Regions from separate parts of the Homo sapiens genome. Here regions 2 and 3 are each linked to region 1. The links are contacts of gene promoters, found by promoter capture Hi-C in human tissues and cell types (Jung and others, 2019). All regions are on one chromosome and are shown on one strand. Each heading gives the region's core, a stretch centred on a gene start or on the middle of the fragment in contact. The rest is flanking DNA. Distances are from core to core; before and after follow the strand shown. Region 1 holds the start of KRTAP9-4 (keratin associated protein 9-4). Region 2 overlaps LOC124904002 (a long non-coding RNA gene). Region 3 has its middle 5.7 kb from the start of KRTAP4-8.

Region 1 (2,700 bases), core at 89-2,588:
TGAGGTGTGGGAAATTGGGAATTTTTTGTAAACAAAAACGTTATCTGCAAATATAAGAGATTATTTGTCCTATTGTTAAAAAAACTCAAGTATATGACTTGCTAATACTTACTTCCAATGTCATTTCTACTATATTGAGAGTTAAATGTAAGTGTCCTTGGGCAGAAAGAGAGGACCTCAGCTTGGACAAGAGTCTGCCCTTTACTAGCTACATAACATCACACATTAAATTGTTCTCAGCTGAAAAAATGGAGGTAATAACACACGACCATCTGTTTTGAGAATCAAATTGGATAATACCTATGGTATGTGATATGTGTGTAAATCTCATATCAGGAATGCTTTCATATAAAACAAAACACCATATGAGATGAGGATGGTTCAGAGTTTATTCAGAAACATATAGCTAAGAATCTCTGCTGGTAGCAGAAACATAACCCAAAGTTATGAAAAGAAGAAAGAAGGATACAAGAACCATGAGGAGGATATTGAAAACAAAAATATGATTGCAAAGATTATTGATCAGTTGCAGAAACCTAAATTCCTTAGAAGCAGAGAATGAAGCTCTTGACTTTTGAGTCAAAGCTGAGACCATGACTCAAAATTGAGAACACACGAAGCTGGCACATGATCCACAAAGTGTAAGGAAAAAGAGAATCAGGATGAAGTATTCTGCCCTCCCTCAAGTAGATTCCCAAGATTTTAAACAGGTAGAGAATTCATAAAAATTTGGGTGAGAGCATGGTGGCTGTCAGCAGCAAATTAAATTAGTCCCCCAAAAGATAAGTCAGTTGAGCAGAAAGTTGTTGTGTGAGGATGGTGGTTCTCTTGGGACTTGATCAGCAGCAAAAAGGCTGACAGCAGCTGGACACACAGGTGGGCTGGAAGCAAGTGGTCTCACAGCAGGCTGGGCGGCAGCAGGGCTGGCAGCAGTTGGAGCCACAGCTCTGGTTTAGGCAACCAGGCAGGCAGACAGTTGTGGGGTAGTAGCAGGTTCTTCTGCAGTACACAGGTGCACAGGAGCTGCTCTGGTCACAGCTGGACCCACAGCAGGTGGGCTGGCAGCAGGGTGTGCTGCAGCAGGAAGGCTGGCAGCAGCTGGTCACACAGGTGGGCTGGCAGCAGGTGTTTTGACAGCAAGTTGGGCGGCAGCAAGGCTGGCAGCAGCTGGAAACACAGCAGGAGGGCTGGCAGCAGGGTGTGCTGCTGCAGGTGGTCACAGTGGTGGGCTTCCAGCAGGTGGTCCTGCAGCAGGTGGTCCTGCAGCATGTAGGCTGACAGCAAGGGGAGCAACAGTGGGTCATGGTGTCAGGGGTAGAGGGTGGGCTTCTGTTCAGAGGTGAGTTTCCCAGAATCTGATGACCCCTTGCAATCTGGACCTTTTATACACCTGGCCTCCAAAGTTTCCACCAATCAGCAGGACTTTTCCTTGTTTCCGTTTACATTGTTTTCCCAGTCCGTTTGTGATTCTCAAAGGGTAGTTGTTTCCTTAAGGTTAAACAGATTAAGGTTTAATCTGTTTCTTAATTGTGAATTACTCATAGACACTTTGTTTCAGATAAAAGGAAGGCAATCTCATCATCAGCATCATTCCTGTTCTGACCATCATCTGGTCATGTGATAGTTCCTGTTGATCTGGGAGGCTCAGGAAGTTCTCTCTGGCCAGCCTCATGTTTGGCTGTATGTAGACTGGGAAGTGTCTGTGGGGAGAAGCATGATGCTGATATATTTACAGTGACAAAATGAATCCATGCCTGGGCCCAAGACTAGTCACCCACCAAATTCTGACTCAAGACTAGCAGGCATCTCTCTGTGCAACCCACACCACCTGTCTTTCAGTTCTTTGAACATCACTTGGGAAGAGGGTGTTTGTCACAGTGTGTTCCATGTGGCAGAGCAGATCGAGAGCAGGTGGATGCAGATAAATCCACTGGGATTTAGACAGCATCAAGTAATCTATGCCCTGAGTGACCATTCATTCTGACTTGTCTGTGAGCGTGGCGATTCCAGAATGAGAATGTAGGACTCTCTATGGCATAAATGCTTGAGATTCAGGCCAACCAGCATGTGCTGTGGCTCTAGTCGCAACCCGGTTACTAGCACAGTAAGCAGCATGTCTTCTCTCTCTCTCTCTATTTCTTTTTAATGAAGGAATTAGATGAGTTGAGATGATGCCTGATTCATCATGGAGTTCTAACATGTTTAAAACATTTTCTAGGTATACCATTCATTTGAGAAGAATGCAAATTATTAATTTTCAACTTGATATAGTATTATATTGTAAATACATCTGTGTCCCCATTACATCTATGTTAGGAAATAGAAATTAATTCCATTCTCTCCCAATTATATGCTCTTACTCATTCCCAAAGACAGCTAATCACTCTATCAGTTGTAATCCTGTAGGTAATTTTTGGTTTTTTAAAGTTTTCATGTGAATAAAAAGTATAGTATTTGCTTCTCTATTTCTTTGGCATAAACAAAAGTAATCTTTATCGCCTAGTCATTTTGGACTCTTCATATAAGCAAAGCAGCAGACAGAGAAAGTAGTTACTATTTGGTGAGGGATAATTACCCTCAAGCCATATAGTGTAGCAGAATATATCTATAGCTCAGGAGATTTACTGAGTATATTAATTTACTAGCACTGCCCTGATGAATTACTGAAAAAAAGTGGCTTAAATTTATTTATCAAAGTTC
Region 2 (2,700 bases), core at 7-2,506, 140 kb after region 1:
TTTTCTGCCTAGAATTTCTCAGCCCCCTGTCCCTATCAGAACTTTGTTCCATAGAAGGAATTTCGGATAAGACTTTTGGAAAGCTTAGCCTAGCCATGGATTTGTACCATCAAATACCTATGAGTTGCATGAATTCCTCTGCTCTTGAGGTTCCAAGATAAACTTGGGGCTCCTGGAACTGTTAGAAAGTGACATGCTTTACTTACCACAGGTCAGGAACCCTGTACAGGGACTGTGTAGATAAGGTATGAGGCCAGTTCTCCCAAGGGGCTTTTATTGGCTCCATAAGTCAAATTTGATTCCTTAAAGGAGAGCACACCATTCCAGTCAAAGCCTTGGTAAAATGACCAATTTCTCCAATTGTGTCTTGTTACACATGAAAACAGATTATTATTGCACTTATGCAAATAACTGTATTGCCATAAGTTAAGAATACTCACAGATAGTTTCCAATTCTGGGGAAAATCAGGTAGAGAGAAACAAATATGCTCCAAATATTTTTCACAGGAGTATACTAACTTGTTAAAAGCTGACAACAGCTCAAATAAAAGTTTCCTTGACTAAAAAAAGGAAAACAAGGAGCAGCAACATTTTAAGCAAAAAGTCAAAAAGATTACGTTGCTCTTCTATTAGTTCAGTTCATGCAGTTAATTCCTGTTCTGCTTGCTATTCATGAACATTTCAGGTCTCCATGAGTTCTGAAAGCTTTTCCTCCATTCTGATGTCACAGTCTCCAAAGTTATTAGAAACTTGCCTTCAAGAACACGTGTTAGAGTTTTATAGCTGATTATAAAACCATCTTCTAAAAAGGACTAAAACAAAACAATTGTCCATGGGTGACAAAAAGTTTTAGGTCAGCCATAATCAAAGACACAATTGACAAGAAAATTTGTTACCACTGTGGCACACGATAATTTTATATAACAATTATAATTATTAGTGATATTGTACACCATGTCATATCAGAATTATAGGAGTTTCCCATAATTTTGGTGCACATACCAATAACATTTTTATACAAATACAGCCCAAAGAAAACCAAACACCATTTTATATTTGACAATGCTTCCTGTATAATTTTTATACCAAATAAGTCATTTATTTCATTTTTGGACTTTAGGGAAACTAATATCTTAGAGGATTAATTAGGTCAGAAAAATACACAACTTGTAATTTGATTCTGGAAACTTTGCCAAATATCAAAAGTTTAAAATACTTGATAGGTCATCATAAAATAAGTCAATTTTTCAAACATTAAGCCCAAATAAAACAGCATAAAGCCAATTAAATTTGTTTTTTGAAATTTTATTATCAATCTTTAAAATTTTAATCTTGACCATAAGATACAGCTTCCATAAGCCTTTTTTAACCTTTATAACCTTTATTAAGGGGTCGGTTAACACTTCAAGAAAACCTTTTTAATCTGACGCAGGGGCCCGTATGCTGGTATTGCATCAGTGTGCCTTTGACATCAATTATTAACTTGCAGAGAAACTGAACTTATTTTGTCTCTCAAAATCAGCCCTTACAATCTCACATGCCTACCTCTTCTGTGGTAGTTCCTGAGCCTTGAGGAGTTGAATAGCTTTTACTTCTGGCCTTATGTCTCAGGAATGCAGTTTATTTTGATTGGCATCTTCTACCAGGCCTGAAGATGAGGTTTTAATTGCTGTCAGTGCTTAAGATTTAGCAGACCTTGGTGTCCTTTTTAGACCCAGGAGTCAAAGGCCTGTAACTTAATGTCACAGGTACTTTCAAAGCACCTACAGAAATATACATGGATGTAATAACCTTAATTTTAAAAAATTATCTCAGATACTTTTTCCTGAGCAAATCAAAAATTAATAATAACAGCATAGCATTGTTTCAATAAGCCATAAAATCTGTTAGGTCAATTACCCAAAGGCAAAAGAAAAGACCTTCTACACTGCACAGAATATTACTTTGGAAGAAAACATTTTCTTTAGACTTTTAGAAAACATTGTTAGCATCAGACCATAACAAATAGAATTTAAGGAAAATAACTTATATGAGCTGCAAACGAGTTGAAGGGGAGAGAAAACAGCGAGTAAACAGTTGAACTTTGGGTTAAAAAAATTAAAATCTCTTATAATTTAATAAGAGTAAATCAATCCCTTAAGAAAATTTCATCGCTCTAACTATTTTGTTTATCATTGCTTTTTTTTTTTTACATGAAGCCCAATCTTCAGGAAGACTATTATAATTTCCTTTTAATTACAGACAACTTGACCATATAAAAGTTTGTTGGTTTTTTTTTTAATCCTCTTATTATGACTTTTACAGACTGTTCATGATATGCTTGGACTTTCTGGTTTGTTTTGAACATCCATCTTTCTTAAACAATCATTTTATTTTAGGTCTAAATTTACCATACAAGATCTTTTCTCATATGAAATTATTTCTCTTTAAGCTTCCTTACCAAAAAGAACCCTCTTTATCCTCTTTATTTTTATACCTTTCTTTACATCTCTCTGATTTCCTGGTTCCTTTTAACTTGTCTTATACATAATCTTTAAATAAGCATTGAATTAGATGACAATTGTTCACCTTTTTAAAAAGGAATTGTTTACCTAGATTATTTATGAAAACTGCAATAGTCATCATTTAAAGTTATGGAACTGCCATTGCAAAATTATAACTGAGACAGTGAAAAAGATCTGACCTAATTGACTCCATCTT
Region 3 (2,700 bases), core at 80-2,579, 160 kb after region 1:
ATGGGACAGGATGGGGCCATGAGTGGTTTAGAAAAAGGCAACTTTCAAGCAGGAAAACAGGGATATAAGTTGTCACTTTGGGCCATGGTTTAAGGCTTTTCAGCTTGAAGGTGGGGTTTTGTCAGAGACCTATCCTTTTCTGCCTAGAATTTCTCTGTCCCCTGGCCCTATCAGAACTTTGTTCCATAGAAGGAATTTCGGATAAGACTTTTGGAAAGCTTAGCCTAGCCATGGATTTGTACCATCAAATACCTATGAGTTGGGTGAATTCCTCTCCTCTTGAGGTTCCAAGATAAACTTGGGGCTCCTGGAACTGTTAGAAAGTGACATGCTTTACTTACCACAGGTCAGGAACCCTGTACAGGGACTGTGTAGATAAGGTATGAGGCCAGTTCTCCCAAGGGGCTTTTATTGGCTCCATAAGTCAAGTTTGATTCCTCAAAGAAGAGCACACCATTCAAGTAAAAGCCTTGGTAAAATGACCAATTTATCGTGTCCTGTTACAAATGAAAACAGATTCTTATTGCACTTACGCAAATAACTGTATTGCCATAAGTTAAGAATACTCACAGATAGTTTCCAATTCTAGGGAAAATCAGGTAGAGAGAAACAAATATGCTCCAAATATTTTTCACAGGAGTATACTAACTTGTTAAAAGCTGACAACAGCTCAAAAGAAAAGTTTCCTTGACTGAAAAAAACAAAATAAAGGGTCAGCAATGTTTTAAGCAAAAAGTCAAAAAGATTACTTCAGTCTTCTGTTAGTTCAGTTCATGCAGTTAATTCCTGTTCTGCTTGCTATTCATGAACATTTCAGGTCTCCATGAGTCCTGAAAGCTTTTCCTTCATTGTGATGTCACAATCTCCAGAGTTATTAGAAACCTGCATTCAAGAATACCTGTTAGAGTTTTATAGCTGATTATAAAACCATCTTCTAAAGAGGACTAAAACAAGACAAAAATTGTCCATGGGTGACAAAAAGTTTTAGGTCAGCCATAGGCGAAGATACAATTGACAAGAAAATTTGTTACCACCATGGCACACAATAATTTAATATAACAATCATAATTATTACTGATAATGTACACCAGGTCATATCAGAATTATAGGAGTTTCCCATAATTTTGGTGCACATACCAATAACAATTTTATACAAATACAGCCCAAATAAAACCAAACACCATTTTATATTTGACAATGCTTCCTGTATAATTTTTATACCAAATAAGTCAAATTATTTCATTTTTGGACTTGAGGGAAACTAATATCTTAAAGGATTAATTAGGTCAGAAAAATACACAACTTGTAATTTGATTTTGGAAAGTTTGTCAAATATCAAAGGTTTAAAACACTTGATATGACAGGTCATCATAAAATAAGTCAATTTTTCAAACAATAAGCCCAAATAAAACAGCATAAAGCCAATTAAATTTGTTTTTCAAAATTTTTTAAACAATCTATAACATTTTAATCTTGACCATAAGATACAACTTTCATAAGCCTTTTATAACCTTTATAACCTTTATTAAGGGGTCAGTTAACACTTCAAGAAAACCTTGTTAATCTGACACAGGGGCCCATATGCTGGTATTGCATCAGTGTGCCTTTGACATCAATTATTAACTTGTATAGAGACTGAACTTATTTTATCTCTCAAAATCAGCCCTTATAATCTCACATGCCTACCTCTTCTGTGATTGTTCCTGAGTCTTGAAGAGTTGAATAGCTTTGATTTATGGCCTTATGTCTCAGAAATGCAGCTTATTTTGATAGGCATCTTCTACCAGGCCTGAAGATGAGGTTTTAATTGCTGTCAGTGTTTAAGATTTAGCAGATCTTGGTCTCCTTTTTAGATCCAGGAGTTAAAGGCCGGTAACTCAATGTCACAGGTACTTTCAAAGTGCACACAGAAATATACATGGATGTAATAACGTTAATTTTTTAAAAAAATTGTCTCAGTTTCTTTTTCCTAAGCAAACCAAAAATTAATAATAATGGCATAGGAATTGTTTCAATAAGCCATAAAATCTGTTAGGTCAATTACCAAAAGGCAAAAGAAAAGACCTTCTACACTGCACAGAGTATTACTTTGGAAGAAAACATTTCCTTTAGACTTTTAGAAAACATTGTTAGCATCAGGCCACAACAAACAGAACTTAAGGAAAATAACTTATATGAGCTGAAAACAAGTTGAAGGGGAGAGAAAACAGCAAGTAAATAGTTGAACTTTGGGTTAAAAAATTAAAATCTCTTATAATTTATTAAGAGTAAATCAATCCCTTAAGAAAATTTCATCGCTGTAACTAATTATTTAGTCTATAAGTGTTTTTTTTAGCATGAAGCCCAATCTTCAGGAAGACCATTATAATTTCCCTTTAATTATAGACAACTCAATCATATAAAAGTTTTTTGGTATTTTTTTAAAATAAATCCTCTTATGACTTATAGAGACTGTTCATGATATGCTTGGACTATCTAGTTTGTTTTGAACATCCATCTTTCTTAAACAATCAGTCATTTTATTTTAGGTCTAAATTTACCATACAAGATTCTTTCTCATATGAAATTATTTCTCTTTAAGCTTTCTTACCAGCACAGGCTGAACAGACTTTGAGAGGAAAATAGTTTATAGTTTACCTTTGAAACAAAGATTATAATATTTCATTCCCAAAGTAAATATTACTGCCTGTGGACTAGACC

The links. The method cuts DNA at HindIII sites, captures the fragments that hold promoters and counts their contacts. A contact is called where the count stands out against the background at its distance.
Region 2: a contact is called between a fragment that was not itself captured here and the fragment with the promoter of KRTAP9-4 in region 1, in 4 of the 25 tissues and cell types used here (H1 embryonic stem cells, adrenal gland, dorsolateral prefrontal cortex and 1 more).
Region 3: a contact is called between a fragment that was not itself captured here and the fragment with the promoter of KRTAP9-4 in region 1, in 3 of the 25 tissues and cell types used here (IMR-90 fibroblasts, mesenchymal stem cells and spleen).

What each region holds. Positions count from the first base shown.
Region 1 is chr17:41,248,325-41,251,024 of GRCh38, reverse strand. It overlaps KRTAP9-4 (keratin associated protein 9-4), which reads right to left and starts at 1,338. Exons shown (of 1, transcript NM_033191.3): 1 at 372-1,338. The coding sequence starts at 1,304. The coding sequence ends at 840. RefSeq lists an enhancer at 1,057-1,611. The HindIII fragment of the contact is 7,447 bases long and covers 1-2,700 here.
Region 2 is chr17:41,111,260-41,113,959 of GRCh38, reverse strand. LOC124904002 (a long non-coding RNA gene) reads right to left here. Exons shown (of 2, transcript XR_007065754.1): 2 at 1,290-2,700. Among named protein-coding and RNA genes, the nearest start is that of KRTAP4-11, 5.8 kb to the left of the region's middle. The HindIII fragment of the contact is 6,500 bases long and covers 1-2,700 here.
Region 3 is chr17:41,091,100-41,093,799 of GRCh38, reverse strand. No RefSeq gene overlaps it. Among named protein-coding and RNA genes, the nearest start is that of KRTAP4-8, 5.7 kb to the left of the region's middle. The HindIII fragment of the contact is 6,382 bases long and covers 1-2,700 here.